Regions from separate parts of the Homo sapiens genome. Here all the other regions are linked to region 1. Evidence: promoter capture Hi-C in 16 types of primary human blood cells and fetal thymus (Javierre and others, 2016). All regions are on one chromosome and are shown on one strand. Each heading gives the region's core, a stretch centred on a gene start or on the middle of the fragment in contact. The rest is flanking DNA. Distances are from core to core; before and after follow the strand shown. Region 1 holds the start of PHAF1 (phagophore assembly factor 1). Region 2 holds the start of PDP2 (pyruvate dehydrogenase phosphatase catalytic subunit 2). Region 3 overlaps LOC107984821 (a long non-coding RNA gene). Region 4 overlaps CES2 (carboxylesterase 2).

The links. Contacts are between HindIII fragments. The CHiCAGO score rates a contact against its expected background, and 5 or more counts as called.
Region 2: a contact is called between the fragment with the promoter of PDP2 here and the fragment with the promoter of PHAF1 in region 1, in 4 of 17 cell types (M2 macrophages, total CD4 T cells, M0 macrophages and 1 more). The highest score is 5.8, in M2 macrophages.
Region 3: a contact is called between a fragment that was not itself captured here and the fragment with the promoter of PHAF1 in region 1, in 1 of 17 cell types (endothelial precursors). The highest score is 5.5, in endothelial precursors.
Region 4: a contact is called between a fragment that was not itself captured here and the fragment with the promoter of PHAF1 in region 1, in 3 of 17 cell types (erythroblasts, M1 macrophages and megakaryocytes). The highest score is 7.5, in erythroblasts.

What each region holds. Positions count from the first base shown.
Region 1 is chr16:67,108,459-67,111,672 of GRCh38, forward strand. It overlaps PHAF1 (phagophore assembly factor 1), which reads left to right and starts at 1,483. Exons shown (of 16, transcript NM_025187.5): 1 at 1,483-1,781. The coding sequence starts at 1,718. RefSeq lists enhancers at 315-1,057, 1,058-1,799 and a silencer at 1,359-1,618. The HindIII fragment of the contact is 22,954 bases long and covers 1-3,214 here.
Region 2 is chr16:66,878,813-66,882,026 of GRCh38, forward strand. PDP2 (pyruvate dehydrogenase phosphatase catalytic subunit 2) reads left to right here and starts at 1,703. Exons shown (of 2, transcript NM_020786.4): 1 at 1,703-1,828. RefSeq lists enhancers at 1,417-1,496, 1,745-2,517 and a silencer at 1,977-2,156. The HindIII fragment of the contact is 2,608 bases long and covers 127-2,734 here.
Region 3 is chr16:66,897,418-66,900,631 of GRCh38, forward strand. It overlaps LOC107984821 (a long non-coding RNA gene), which reads right to left. Exons shown (of 3, transcript XR_001752244.2): 2 at 3,176-3,214; 3 at 2,272-3,076. Among named protein-coding and RNA genes, the nearest start is that of PDP2, 19 kb to the left of the region's middle. RefSeq lists enhancers at 1,691-2,586, 2,587-3,214. The HindIII fragment of the contact is 773 bases long and covers 1,390-2,162 here.
Region 4 is chr16:66,937,343-66,940,556 of GRCh38, forward strand. CES2 (carboxylesterase 2) reads left to right here. Exons shown (of 12, transcript NM_001365405.1): 2 at 695-899; 3 at 1,875-2,016; 4 at 2,880-3,013; 5 at 3,095-3,214. Among named protein-coding and RNA genes, the nearest start is that of CES2, 3.4 kb to the left of the region's middle. The HindIII fragment of the contact is 939 bases long and covers 1,186-2,124 here.

The sequences.
Region 1 (3,214 bases), core at 233-2,732:
CCTCTTGAGTAGCTAGGACTCCTGGCCCAACCTACTGCCATGACACCAGCTAATTTTTTTTTTTAATAGAGACTGGGTCTTGCTATGTTGCCCAGGCTGGTCTCAACTCCCGGGCTCAACCGATCCTCCCACCTCATCCTCCCAAAGTGCTGGTATTACCGCTGTGAGCACTGCTCTCAGCATTCACCTTTAAAAACATATCTCTATCTATCTATCTATCTATCTATCTATCTATCTATCTATCTATCATCTATCTATCTATCTATCTATATCACGGTTTATTTAGCCACTTCCCTACTGGACATCTCAGTGACCCAGTTCTGTTGTTTTGGCATACAATGCTGCAGTGGACAACCTTCTCCATGTAGTTCATTTTAATCAAACAGCGACTTCAAATTTTGATAGAGCCTCCAAAGAAACGCTAGTATCAAGCCAGTTTGAGAATTTAGTATGCCACTCTCTCCCCTACTGAAAACCTTCTTCCAGGGGCAATGTAATGGAAAGGACTTGGGTTCTGCGCCTAGAACCAAGGAGCCTTGGGTCTTTAACATCTCTGGGCCTCATGTATTCGCCTATGTAAAGTCGGTATAATCTCGCATCTCAGGTTGGTTGTGAGAACCCAGAGACTGCCTCCGTGAAGGCTTGGCATCAGCATAGGCCTCGGCTGTCCTTTAGTTTCAGGGTGTCCCGGGGCACGGGCCAAAACCTCAGGCTGAACCTGCTAGAGGAACCTTCCTGTCCCTTGCAGATTAGGAAAACTGTGGCACAGAAAGCGCCAAGGGGTTGATCAAGACCCCCACAGCTTTGGTCCACGCTGCTGCCGGCGGCTTCGGATCCTGGTCCCGGGGGACTGCGCACATTTGGATGTGGTCAGCAGGGAGGCCTGGCCTGGCCCCTTCCTCTTCTACCCAGTCCTCTCCCCGAACCAATTCCGACCCCTAACGCCCACAGTCCTCACTCGCTTACGGTTCGACCCTTGCCCCAGGGGCGACTGGGTGGGGCCGTCATTCCTGAACAACTAAAAGCTGCTGCGGCCAGCGTCACCTCCGGCCCCAACGGAGACGGTGGGGGCCGTGAGGCTTAGGGACTCCGCGTCCTCCCTCCTGCTGGGCCTCAGCGTGCCCTCTGTACTTGCCTTCTGCTACCAGTGAACGTGAGTGGGACGTGTGTGTAGACAGCAGACGGGTCTTGTGCAGCTGTGTGACGTGTGTGTTGTGTGGTGAACCCTTCTTTATGTAGATATGTGAAGTGTGTGTGCTGTGGTGCACAGATGTAGGGGCTCACGAAGTACTGGGCTCCTTGCTCCTAGAGCCCGAACAGTTCCCAACGTTACAGCCCTGCCCGACTCAGCCTCCGCAGAGACGGCGGCGGGACCCGCAGTTTGCGCGTGCGCGGCTCCGCCCCAGGCTCCTCCCTCGCGCTGGCACTCCCGCCTTCGCCCGGCCCTCCCCGCGCTTTACGGCCCGGCACGCCACTTTTACTGCAGTCGCGCCCGCCGCCGTCGTTGCCCCCGCTGCCGCGGCTGCTGCAGGTGAGGTGAAGTGAGGTGAGGTGTGGTGTTGGGCCGGTGCTGCTGCCGCTGCCGCCGGGGAGGAGGTGGAAAGCGGGGCTGTGGCGGGCCGGCGGGGGCGGCCTGTCAGCCGCTGCTTTGTCTCCTTAGCTCGGGTCCCTTCTGCGCTGCCGCAGGGAGGCCGCCCGGGCCAGGCGAGCCGAACCAATGCTGGACCTGGAGGTAGTGCCCGAACGCTCTCTGGGGAACGAGCAATGGGAATTCACGCTGGGTGAGTTTGGGGTCCTCTGTCAGGACCCCATTCGCTGATCCTTGCTTTCTCCTGGGCTCTTCCCACCTGTTCTCAGTCTCTCACGCCCCTGCGCCCGCAGCTCCTCACCTCTTTCGTCCTCTCGGCTCGCTGGGCTCCAGGCACTAGATACCCGCTCCAACTGGCCCGATTTGCCTGTCAGTTGCTCGTCTCGGGTCTCAGCAGGGTCTCTTCTGGGACGGTGGAACAGTAGTAGTAAAGACAATAATAGCTTGCTCTCCCCAAATGCCTAATGCCCGGCCCTGCTCTTTTTGGACGTAATTCTCTCTAGTACCCCTCGCCGGCACCTGAGGATAGGTACTGTTGTTATTCCCATTTCCATTTTACAGACTAAATAATGGCTGAGAAGTGGCTGACCCCTCTGATCATCACTGTGGCCTGTGGTCTGTCTCCCACTGCTTTTCTGGGCTGTGGCTTCCTTCCCCTTTTTAGGAGGGGAAACCTAGGCTTGGAACCCATGATCAGATGTTGGGGCTCTGGTCAAGGGAGTTGAGTTTGTGTGTATTAAAGGAACAGCTGACTTGCTTCTCTCTTTTTTTTCTTTTTTTTTGAGACGAAGTCTCGCTCTGTCGCCCAGGCTGGAGTGCTGTTGCGTGATCTTGGCTCACTGCAACTTAACGCCTCGTGGGTTTAAGCGATTCTCCTGCCTCAGCCTCCCCAGTAGCTAGGATTACAGGCACGCGCCACCACACCCGGCTAATTTTTGTATTTTTAGTAGAGACGAGGTTTCACCATGTTGACCAGGCTGGCTGGTTTCGAATTCCTGACCTCGTGATCCGCCCACCTCGGCCTCCCAAAGTGCTGGGATTACAGGCGTGAGCCACTGCACCCGGCCCCGCTTCTCTCTCTTTTGAAATATAGTCTGTATCGGATGCTGTAATCCTAAACCCAGACCTCAGTTGTGACAGGTGAAGGTTGGATGAAATAGGAGTTAGGGAGAAGTAACATTTAGTTTCTAAAAAATGCAGTTTGGTCGTTTTGGGGTTTGCTGGCCCAGCCTTCTCCCTTCACCCTCTCCATTTCCAGCATCACTACTTTTATGTGTACAAGGATGTTTGCATTCAGTAACCCCTGTGTGTTTACTTTGATGTCCCAGCACTAAGAAAAGGGGGTGGGGTAGGTGTTGGTGCTGTTTGTTTGTGCAGGCCTGAACTTTAGTCACTCTAGTGTGAGCTACTGGACTAAATCAGCTGCTCCATTGGATTATAAATTATCCTTGACTCTGGAAGACTTATGTCTGTGGAGACAGTGTGTTGGAGAAACCAGGTGGTACAGATTGCTGGTAAGGCCCTGCTGATGCTTAGTGGCTACATATGTCCTGTGTGTTGTAAGAGCTAGTTTTTGTTGTTGGTGTTTTGTTTTAAGACAGAGTCACTCTGTTGCCCAGGTTGGAG
Region 2 (3,214 bases), core at 453-2,952, 230 kb before region 1:
CAATGTTAGGACCAGAAGGGACGGAGGGATTATCTGGTGTCGGGGTTCGCTGTCTCTCTCAACCTACCAGCCGCCAGCCGTGCTGAGTTAATTGTCAGTAGCAGGCCAATATAATGGTCAGTTCAAAGCTTAATGGTTTGTGGGAAACCACTAAAGACTTTAGGGCAGGAGGCCGGGCGCGGTGGCTCACGCCTGTAATCCCAGCACTTTGGGAGGCGGAGGCGGGCGGATCACGAGGTCAGGAGATCGAGACCATCCCGGCTAAAACGGTGAAACCCCGTCTCTACTAAAAATACAAAAAATTAGCCGGGCGTAGTGGCGGGCGCCTGTAGTCCCAGCTACTTGGGAGGCTGAGGCAGGGGAATGGCGTGAACCCGGGAGGCGGAGCTTGCAGTGAGCCGAGATCCCGCCACTGCACTCCAGCCTGGGCGACAGAGCGAGACTCCGTCTCAAAAAAAAAAAAAAAAAAAAAAAAAAAAGACTTTAGGGCAGGAATTTGAGGGTTTTTTTGGTTTGTTTTTGTTTCTGTTTTTGTTTTTTTTGAGACAGACTCTCACTCTGTCTCCCAGGCTGGCGTGCAGTGGCATGATCTCACCTCAGTGCAACTTCCACCTCCCTGGTTCAAATGATTCTCATGCCTCAGCCTCCCAGGTAGCTGGGACTACAGGCGCGCACCACCACTCCCAGCTAATTTTTGTATTTTTAGTAGAGACGGTTTCGTGATGTTGGCCAGGCTGGTCTCAAACTCCTGACCTCAGGAGATCCCCCCGCCTCGGCCTCCCAAAGTGCTGGGATTACAGGCAGGAGCCACCGCACTCGGCCTTGGAATTTGAGTTTTAGAAGTGTCATTCTGCCAGGCGTGATGGCTCACGTCTGTAATCCCAGCACTTTGGGGAGGCTGAGGTGGGAGGATTGCTTGAGCCCGGCAGTTTGAGACCAGCCTGGGCAACATAGAAAGACCTTGTCTCTACCCACCAACCACGAGAAAAGGTGGGAGGGGCGTCATTCTGGCTGCTCTGCTCTGTGGTTAGGACCAAGTCAAAGGTGGAGGAGGGAAAACCGTAAAATCAAGTGAGAGGCTTGGAATAGGGTGGCTGCGTCGCCGGATGGATGAGTGGAGAGAGATTTAGGAGATAGGATTTACAGCATTAGATAACTGGAAAGAGAGGGTGAGGGAGAGGAAGGAGTCAAGATGCCTCCCAGGGTTTTGGCTTGGGTCTCTGGGCAGATGGTGGGGCCATTACTGGGTTAGGAGAGAAGAGAAAAAGCAAGTTTGGCAGAAAGCTGAGTTTGGGGTAAGTTATGTTTGAGGCGCCTGGGGGCCTCCAGAGGCAGGTGTCCAGGTGGCTGGACATCAGGGTGTGGCGCTCAAGAGAGGGTTCTGGAGTGGTCGACACCGAAGTGGAGAGGAAGCAGTGAGGTGTTCTAACAACGGTGAGGAATTGGGGAGGCCGCTGGGTTCGGGGTATGCAGAGTGTAGCGGCCACGTAGCTGGCGATCTCAGGCACGTGACTGCCTGGTCCTGTGGCCCCGCGCTCGAACACTTTCAGCACCCAGGCAGGGGGTAAGGGGCGGTGTTGCCCCCTCCCGGGTCCCGCCTTTCTGCCCGCCTCTCATCCTCTTTAGCCATTGGGCAATACCTCTGTCCATCAAGGGCCCGCCTCCGCAATTGAGCCAACCAGGGCTGGCGGGAGGGCGCTTCCTTCTGGAGCTGGGTCCTGACTAGGGACCGCCTGGGTGAGGTGAGGACCTGGTGGCCGCAGTTGTGGCACTGTGCGCAGGCGCTGAACTGACCGGACGGAGCGGGCGGCTGTGGCCTCGCCAGCTGGTGAGAAGCGGGCGAGGGTCCGAGGTAGGGAAGGTAACGAGCGGGGGATGTGGACACCTCTTTCCCCGCCAGGCCTCGCCGGCGCCTGACCCTCCCGGCCTGCGGCACCGGCTCAGGTGACTGGGCGGAGGGAGAGCTGAGGTGAGGGGGCGGGTCCGCGGCGGAGAGGGACCAGCTGGGCCTACGACCACGGTCACCCCACTCACGTGCGCGCGCCACGTGGGCCCGCGGGCTCGCCGAGGACCCTTGGCTGCCTACCGGGGCACCCCACTAGCTGCTCTGGCCTATCGAGCACCCCTTGGAGCTCTGTGTCCCGACTGCACGCCCCTGTTTTACAGGCTGGCAAGCCGGGGCTCAGAGGCACCAAGCGGGTCGCCCGGGGGCACCCAGCTGGGGTACGGCCGTGCCGGGGTTCTAGGGAGATCGGTTTTGGTGGGCTCCGGAGTCCATGCACTTAGCGATGAGGCTGAAGTCAGAGATTTGAACTTGGGACCTGTCTGTTTTCTTTAAGGATGCAAGAGGGTTTGCGTCCTGGCTGCGGTGTATCACCCTGCACCGCTGCCTGCCTTGACTGCAGGGCCGGAGCGTCAGGCGCCCTCTGCTCCCGGACAGACCGCCCCCGCACCGACTTCTGCGGGGTGGGCTGGCAGGGGGTGGGGGAGTGAAGGGACGGTCCTCAGTCCTGGGAACTCTTGAGGTCCCGACAAATGATCTCGAGATCCCGAGGGCAGGATTCATACATGAAAAGCTCATTATAATGGGTCAAGGTTTTGTTCTGTTTTTTTTTTTTTAATTTAATTTAATTTAATTTAATTTAATTTAATTTATTATATTCCAAGGAAAAGTACCACCAGGGCTAGTGAAGGGACTAGGAAACTCGTCACCCCCTTGAGGAGGCAGATGTGAAGCTTTTGGAAATCAGTTTGGCAATGAGTCTACACCCTTGGACCTACTGACTCCTTGTTTGGGAAATAACTAGGATAAAACCTAAGTAGAGAAAAGGTTACTGCATAAAGCAGTACAGTTTGGTGGGGTTTTGTTGTTGTTGTTGTTTTTAAAGAGACAGATCTGGCTCTGTCGCCCAGGCTGGAGTGCAGTGGTGTGATCATAGCTCACTGCAGTCTTGAAATCTTGGGCTCAAGCGATCCTCCCACCTCAGCCTCTTGAGTAGCTGGGACTACAGGCACTTACCACCATGCCCAGCTAATCTAAAAATTTTTGTAGAGATGGGGCACTTGCTGTATCACCCAGGGTGGTCTTAAACTCCCTAGCCTCAAGTGATCCTCTTGCCTTGGCCTCCCAAAATGCTGAGATTATAGGCATGAGCCACTGTGCCCAGTCCAGTTTGGTATTTTATATTAATAAATAGCAAGTAGTAGAAACAAC
Region 3 (3,214 bases), core at 526-3,025, 210 kb before region 1:
GGGATTATCATTAGCTCTTATAGGTTTGGGGATAGACGGTGGAGTTAGGAGCAATGTTTGGCAGGCAGGGAGTGGATCTCACAAAGTACCTTCTCAAGGGTGGGGAGAATTACAAAGAACCTTCTTAAGGGTGGGGGAGATTACAAAGTACATTGATCAGTTAGGGTGGGGAAGAAACAAATCACAATGGTGGAATGTCATCAGTTAAGGCTATTTTCACTTCTTTTGTGGATCTTCAGTTGCTCCAGGCCATCTGGATGTATAGGTGCAGGTCACAAGGGATATGATGGCTTAGCTTGAGCTCAGAGGCCTGACAACAACTAATAGAATATAGTAAGTCTTTATATAATGTCCTCACTTAATGTAGTTCTTGGAAATTGCAGCTTTAAGCAAAATGACATACAAGGAAACCAATTTTGTCATAGGCTAATTGACATAAACAAGAGTTAAGTTCCTACAGCATATTTCTGGTGATAGAAATATCATCAGACTTCTAAATAAAGACCCAAATGCTTCTCATATTAAACATTGAAACACGTGTAAGAAAGACTAATAGAAACAAGGCCAGGTGTGGTGGCTCACACCTGTAATCCCAGCACTTTGGGAGGCTGGGGAAGGTGGATCACCTGAGGTCAGGGATTTGAGACCAGCCTGGCCAACATGGCGAAACCCTGTCTCTCCTAAAAATACAAAAATTAGCCGGGCTTGGTGGTGGGCACCTGTAATCCCAGCTGCTCAGGAGGCTGAGGCAGGAGAATTTCTTGAATCCAGGAGGCGGAGGTTGCAGTGAGCCAAGATTGTGTCATTGCACTCCAGCGTGGGCAACAAGAGTGAAACTCCATCTCAAAAAAAAAAAAAAAAAAGAAAGAAAGAAAGATTAATAAAAACAAGTAATAGAATTATTTATCCAGTTATTCCAGTTCAAGGTCATGGATGGCTGGAGCCTATCCCAGCAGCTCAGGGCGCCAGGCGGGAACCAGGCCTAGACAGGATGCCATTGCCTTGAGTACACTCACACTCATGCAGACTGGGAGCATGCAGACAAGCTAGTTAATCTAACATGCACATCTTTGGGATGGGGGAAGAAACCAGAGTACCCAGAGAAAGTCCTCTACAGACTCCACACAGACAGTAGCCCCAGCCAGAAATAGATTTTTTTCTTCATCAATGTTGTAACAAAATAATGTTGAACAAAATGAGCCAGGAGTGGTCGCACACCCCTGTAGTTCCAGCCACTTGGGAGGCTGAGGCAGAAGGATCGCTTGAACCCAGGAGTTTGAGGTTACAGTGAGCTATGATCATGCCACTGCACTCCAGCCTGAGCAATAGAGACCTGTCTCTAAAACAAACAAACAAACAAACAAACAAATCATTAAAAAAAATAATAAAAGCTTTCAGTGACATCCTCCCATTTCTGCCTCCCACCATCCTCCCCTGCTTCCAAGGAGTCAGAAAAATGTCACAATCCCTTCATGATGTGCAAGGCTGAGTGTGACCTGGCCCTGCCCACTCTTCAACCCCATCTCATACCTCTACCACTTCTGTGCTTCAGCCACTCTGAGTTGCTTCCAGTGAGGGAGTCTCTCTGTTAACTGGACATAGTAGGGACTCAATTTGTGATAATTTGTGATCATAAACTAGGTCACATCTGTGAGCCTTGCTGAGCACTTTACATGTATTATCTCATTTAATCTTCATGCAACCCTATGATCAAGTATTATTAACCCATTTTACAGATGAAGAAACTGAGCCTGGGCATGTAAAAGGTTGTGCCCAAGGTCACAAAAATAGTAAATGCAGAGTCGAGTTTGAAACCCTGGTGTCTGAATCCAAACCTTCCTCAGCAATCATGTGATTCTACCGAATAGGTATTGATTTGATAAGAAGCATGTGCTCCACCTGCTCCCCAAAGGCCGGGCAGCAACTTAGGAGGGAGAGTGAGCTGTTGGTCTATGGAAGCATTCTAGCAAGAGCTGGGGAGCACTAGGCAAGATGTGAATTGGACGGAGTGTGGGGGCCCCACCCTGAGGCTGGGACCTCTGCCTATGCCTGGGATTGGGGGCTGTGTGCACGCATGGGTCATGTGATACCCTGTATATGGCCTTTCCCTGTGTCCAGGCCAGCCTAGTCCTTGGGGCTGGGGGTGGGCAAGAGCAGGTGGAAGCTTGGGGAGCCCGCCTCGAGCAGGCAGAGTCCAGCAGACCATAGCCTGTCCACTGTCCTGACCCTGTGGCCCTGGACTGGCCTCTGCCCTGGGCCTGGCACCTCTGGCTTGGGGAAGGGCCCAGAACTACTCAGGCACACAGTGAGGCCTGCCCTCCCACCTGCTACCAGGCAGAATTTATCTCAACTGAGTGAGAAATAGAGAGAGGGAGAGAGAAAGAGAGAAAGGGAGAGAGAGAGAGAGGCAATTGCGTAAGAGGATTTGAACAAAAATGGTTATGGCACTGGTGTTTGTAAGAAAGAGAAACTGGACACTGTTTACATGTCCTCCTCAAGGGCTGGACAAAGAGATTCTGATGTGTCCATCCTGGCAGACTTTAGAAATAATTAGGAAAAGAAAAAGTGATGGGGGAAGATCTTTATAGTTTATCTGACAGGAAACTGCTAATTGTCAATACTGTAAATGTTGGGGGGAATTGATCACAAAACAGAATGTACAGTGTGACCCCAAGTTGAAATCCTTCCCCCAGCCCTCACACACACTCTTCCACCAGCTCCCTCGTGACTTACCCTGTTGGCCAGTGGCCAGAGGGTGGGGGAGGGGGCTTATCTTGGGAAGTGGATGAGATCACCCCGAGGCTGGCTGGTTTAGTACCGGGTAACCTTTTCTACCCTTATGGCTCTCAGAGGCTTCTGTGCTGGCTCCTAAACCTTGGCGCCAACCTCAGGCTGGAGGGGGTTATGCTCCCCCTCCCCAGGGTGGAGATGGTGGCCAAAGCCGGATAGGGCACAGGTGCTGGGCTGACGCAGAGATGGAGTGGCAGAGGGGGTCTGGGGAGTTCCAGGGCTCAGCTGGGACCCTATGAGAACTCTGCTCCCAGCAGATCTGGGTGTCCTGTCATTTCCCAGGGACCTGTGTGTGCAGAAAATACATTTTGTGGATACAGGAATATCCCAGAGGATAGCCACTGTGTGAAGGGCCGAGGGGTCTCCCTGGCAGTGCCTCTAACACCTTGGCATGTCTTGGGATTCCAGTCAGCCAGCCGGGCTC
Region 4 (3,214 bases), core at 405-2,904, 170 kb before region 1:
TTGTTGACACCGCAGTACACACAGTGCCCAGCAGTTTACACAAGAATAGATGTGTGCACTTGTCCTTGATTTTCATCTAAACAGTCATAAACTCACCCACTTTCTGGAGCCAGGCTTTTCTACAGCTGGGACTACAGGCATGCACCACCACACCCCGCCAATTTATTTCCTGATTTTTTTGCAGAGACAGAGTCCCACTATGGTCCCCAGGCCAGTCACTGTGCTTTTTATATCCCAGCCACAGCCATACTTTTCTCTTGCACCTCTTTTCACCAACATCACTCATGGTTTGGATGATGCTTTCTTTACATGATTTCTTGCCACTTTGGACATGACATCCCTGAGGACAAGAAACTTGCCTGCCCAATTCCCACCATCATCCTACTGTCACATGACCTGGCACACAGTTGAAGGACACTCTAGTCCCATCAAGGGCATGTGACCCTTTGTTTGAAGGTCCTAGGGCTGAATGATGATGCCTGGCCCCAAGGAGCCTCAGCCTGGTGGGATGGAGACAGGCCCAGGAAGCCAGAGCGGGAAGGGAGTGTTACAGGCAGGAAGTTTGTAAAGCCCATGTTTACAGATCAGAGTCCCTTGAGCTAAGATGAGGATGGCAAGGAAGCAGCAATACCAACAGTTGGGAGGGCAGTCGATTGGTCAAACCCAACCGTGATGTCTGTCTCTCTGCCCACAGGCCAGGACTCAGCCAGTCCCATCCGGACCACACACACGGGGCAGGTGCTGGGGAGTCTTGTCCATGTGAAGGGCGCCAATGCCGGGGTCCAAACCTTCCTGGGAATTCCATTTGCCAAGCCACCTCTAGGTCCGCTGCGATTTGCACCCCCTGAGCCCCCTGAATCTTGGAGTGGTGTGAGGGATGGAACCACCCATCCGGCCATGTAAGCTCTCCAAGGGGTCCAGGGAACTCCAGGCCCTGGGGCAGGGGTGGGGGTGCTCTGAGCTCAGCTAGGCTGCAGTTATCATTTCATCTAAACCCCCACAGCCAGTTTTCCTTCTGAGTTTCGTGGATTCCCACGTGCATTTTTCCAATGAGCATGCTGAGGCTCAGGAGGGCAGAATAACTTCTCAGACTCCTGGATCAGGGCTTGGCATTCAGAAGACATTGGCTCCAGGTGCCGAAGGGAGGGGCAGACACACGTATCTCCCCAGATTCTGGTTATGCCAAGCTTTCTCTGCCACCAGTGGCAGGTGTCTCTGGGAAAGGTTCGGGTTGGCTCTATGAACCTTGTAGGAGCCCCTAACTCTAGTGGCAGATGTTGCAAATACCTGAAGAGAACAGTAGTGGTAGCTTTCTGGGGACCTGCACTCTCCACAGGCACTGTGTCCACTGACAGGACCAGGAGCCATTGGCCAAGAGACATGTATATGTATATGTATATGTTTCCAACTGGAGGCCATGTAGGAATGATGAGTTTTTGAGAGTTTAGACTTGGGATGAGAGACATCCCACTGCCCTTCTCATGAGAAATTAACATCCATTCACTCATGTAGCACACATATGTGGGCTACTCCCCTGTCCCAGGCCTTACGGGTTACAGGAATATAGTGGTGAATGTCAACACATGCAGCCAATGGTTCTCATAGAAACCCCTAAGAGTCAAGGTTTCCGGCAGTGCGAGGAATGATACCCAAGGTCCTCAGTAACCTCGAGGCCTCCCTGGAAGTCCAAGCTGCATCCCAGCTTCCCCAGAGCCTGTGGCCTGTAACTTGGTGGGAAGGGATTTTTGAGAGGGATCATGTGTGAGCAGGATATTGTGGGAAGGGTCTGAGGGTGGCTGGGAGCACCTCTGAACCCAGGGTCTGGTTTTGGCCACAGCCTGGCCCCTGGACTGATTATTTGCCCTGGTTACCAGGTGTCTACAGGACCTCACCGCAGTGGAGTCAGAGTTTCTTAGCCAGTTCAACATGACCTTCCCTTCCGACTCCATGTCTGAGGACTGCCTGTACCTCAGCATCTACACGCCGGCCCATAGCCATGAAGGCTCTAACCTGCCGGTGGGTGTCAGGCCACAGTTCACTGGGGGTTGGAGGACAGTTCTTCTGCAAGAAGCTGAAAAGGACAATATTAGCTCAGGCCCTGCTTCAGAGTGGACCATGCTGAGAAGCTTCTCACTGTCAGGTCCAAGAAATGCTCCTTACCCAGACTGGGCAGCTGGCCCCTGGACATGGGGTCACAGAGTTCTGGCTGCTCCCAGAGGTCAAAGGCTGTGGCTCTGGGCTGGACCCAGGACTCACTCAGCCAACTCATGCCAGGAGATCCACTTAAGTGCCAAAGGGCTGCACCTTGAGGTGACCAAGAACCCCAGCCATGGATAATCTGTTGGGCCTATAGAATGGGCACACACAAAAACTTTTTTTCTTAGAGATGGCATCATGCTCTGTTGCCCAGGCTAAAATGCAGTGGCATGAACATACCTCTCTGTAACCTCGAAATCCGGGATGATCCTCTCAGATTAGCCTCCCGAGTAGCTGGGACTACTGGCCTATTCCACCATGCCTGGCTCATTTTTAAAACATTTTCTGTTGAAACGGGGTCTCACTATGTGGTTCAGGCTAAGGACATTTTTGGTTAATGTTCATGTGGAGCCATCAGGGAGACACCCCTTTTCTTTCCACTTTGGTGAATTATCTGGGGTTAATGAACCCAGGCTTTGATACAGGGGGTTCGATTGCAAAGATTGGGAGGCCTGGTCTTCCTGATAGATCTTGGGTGCCTAACCATTTGCCCATGTAATGAATTTGTGCTGGAGATCTAATGGGGAGGTAGACAGAGGCAAAGCACTGGTTGGTCTAGGTAGTGGCCCTGGTGGGGTTTGGGCTGGGTGGGAGCATCATGGTAGCTGCCTTGATTTCCCCAGGTGATGGTGTGGATCCACGGTGGTGCGCTTGTTTTTGGCATGGCTTCCTTGTATGATGGTTCCATGCTGGCTGCCTTGGAGAACGTGGTGGTGGTCATCATCCAGTACCGCCTGGGTGTCCTGGGCTTCTTCAGGTGAGACTAGGGCTGGGCTGGGCAACCCGGGCTGAGCGGGGCCAGGACAGCCCTGTGATCCCTGTCCCTGCTACTTCTCAGCACTGGAGACAAGCACGCAACCGGCAACTGGGGCTACCTGGACCAAGTGGCTGCACTACGCTGGGTCCAGCAGAATATCGCCCACTTTGGAGGCAACCCTGACCGTGTCACCATTTTTGG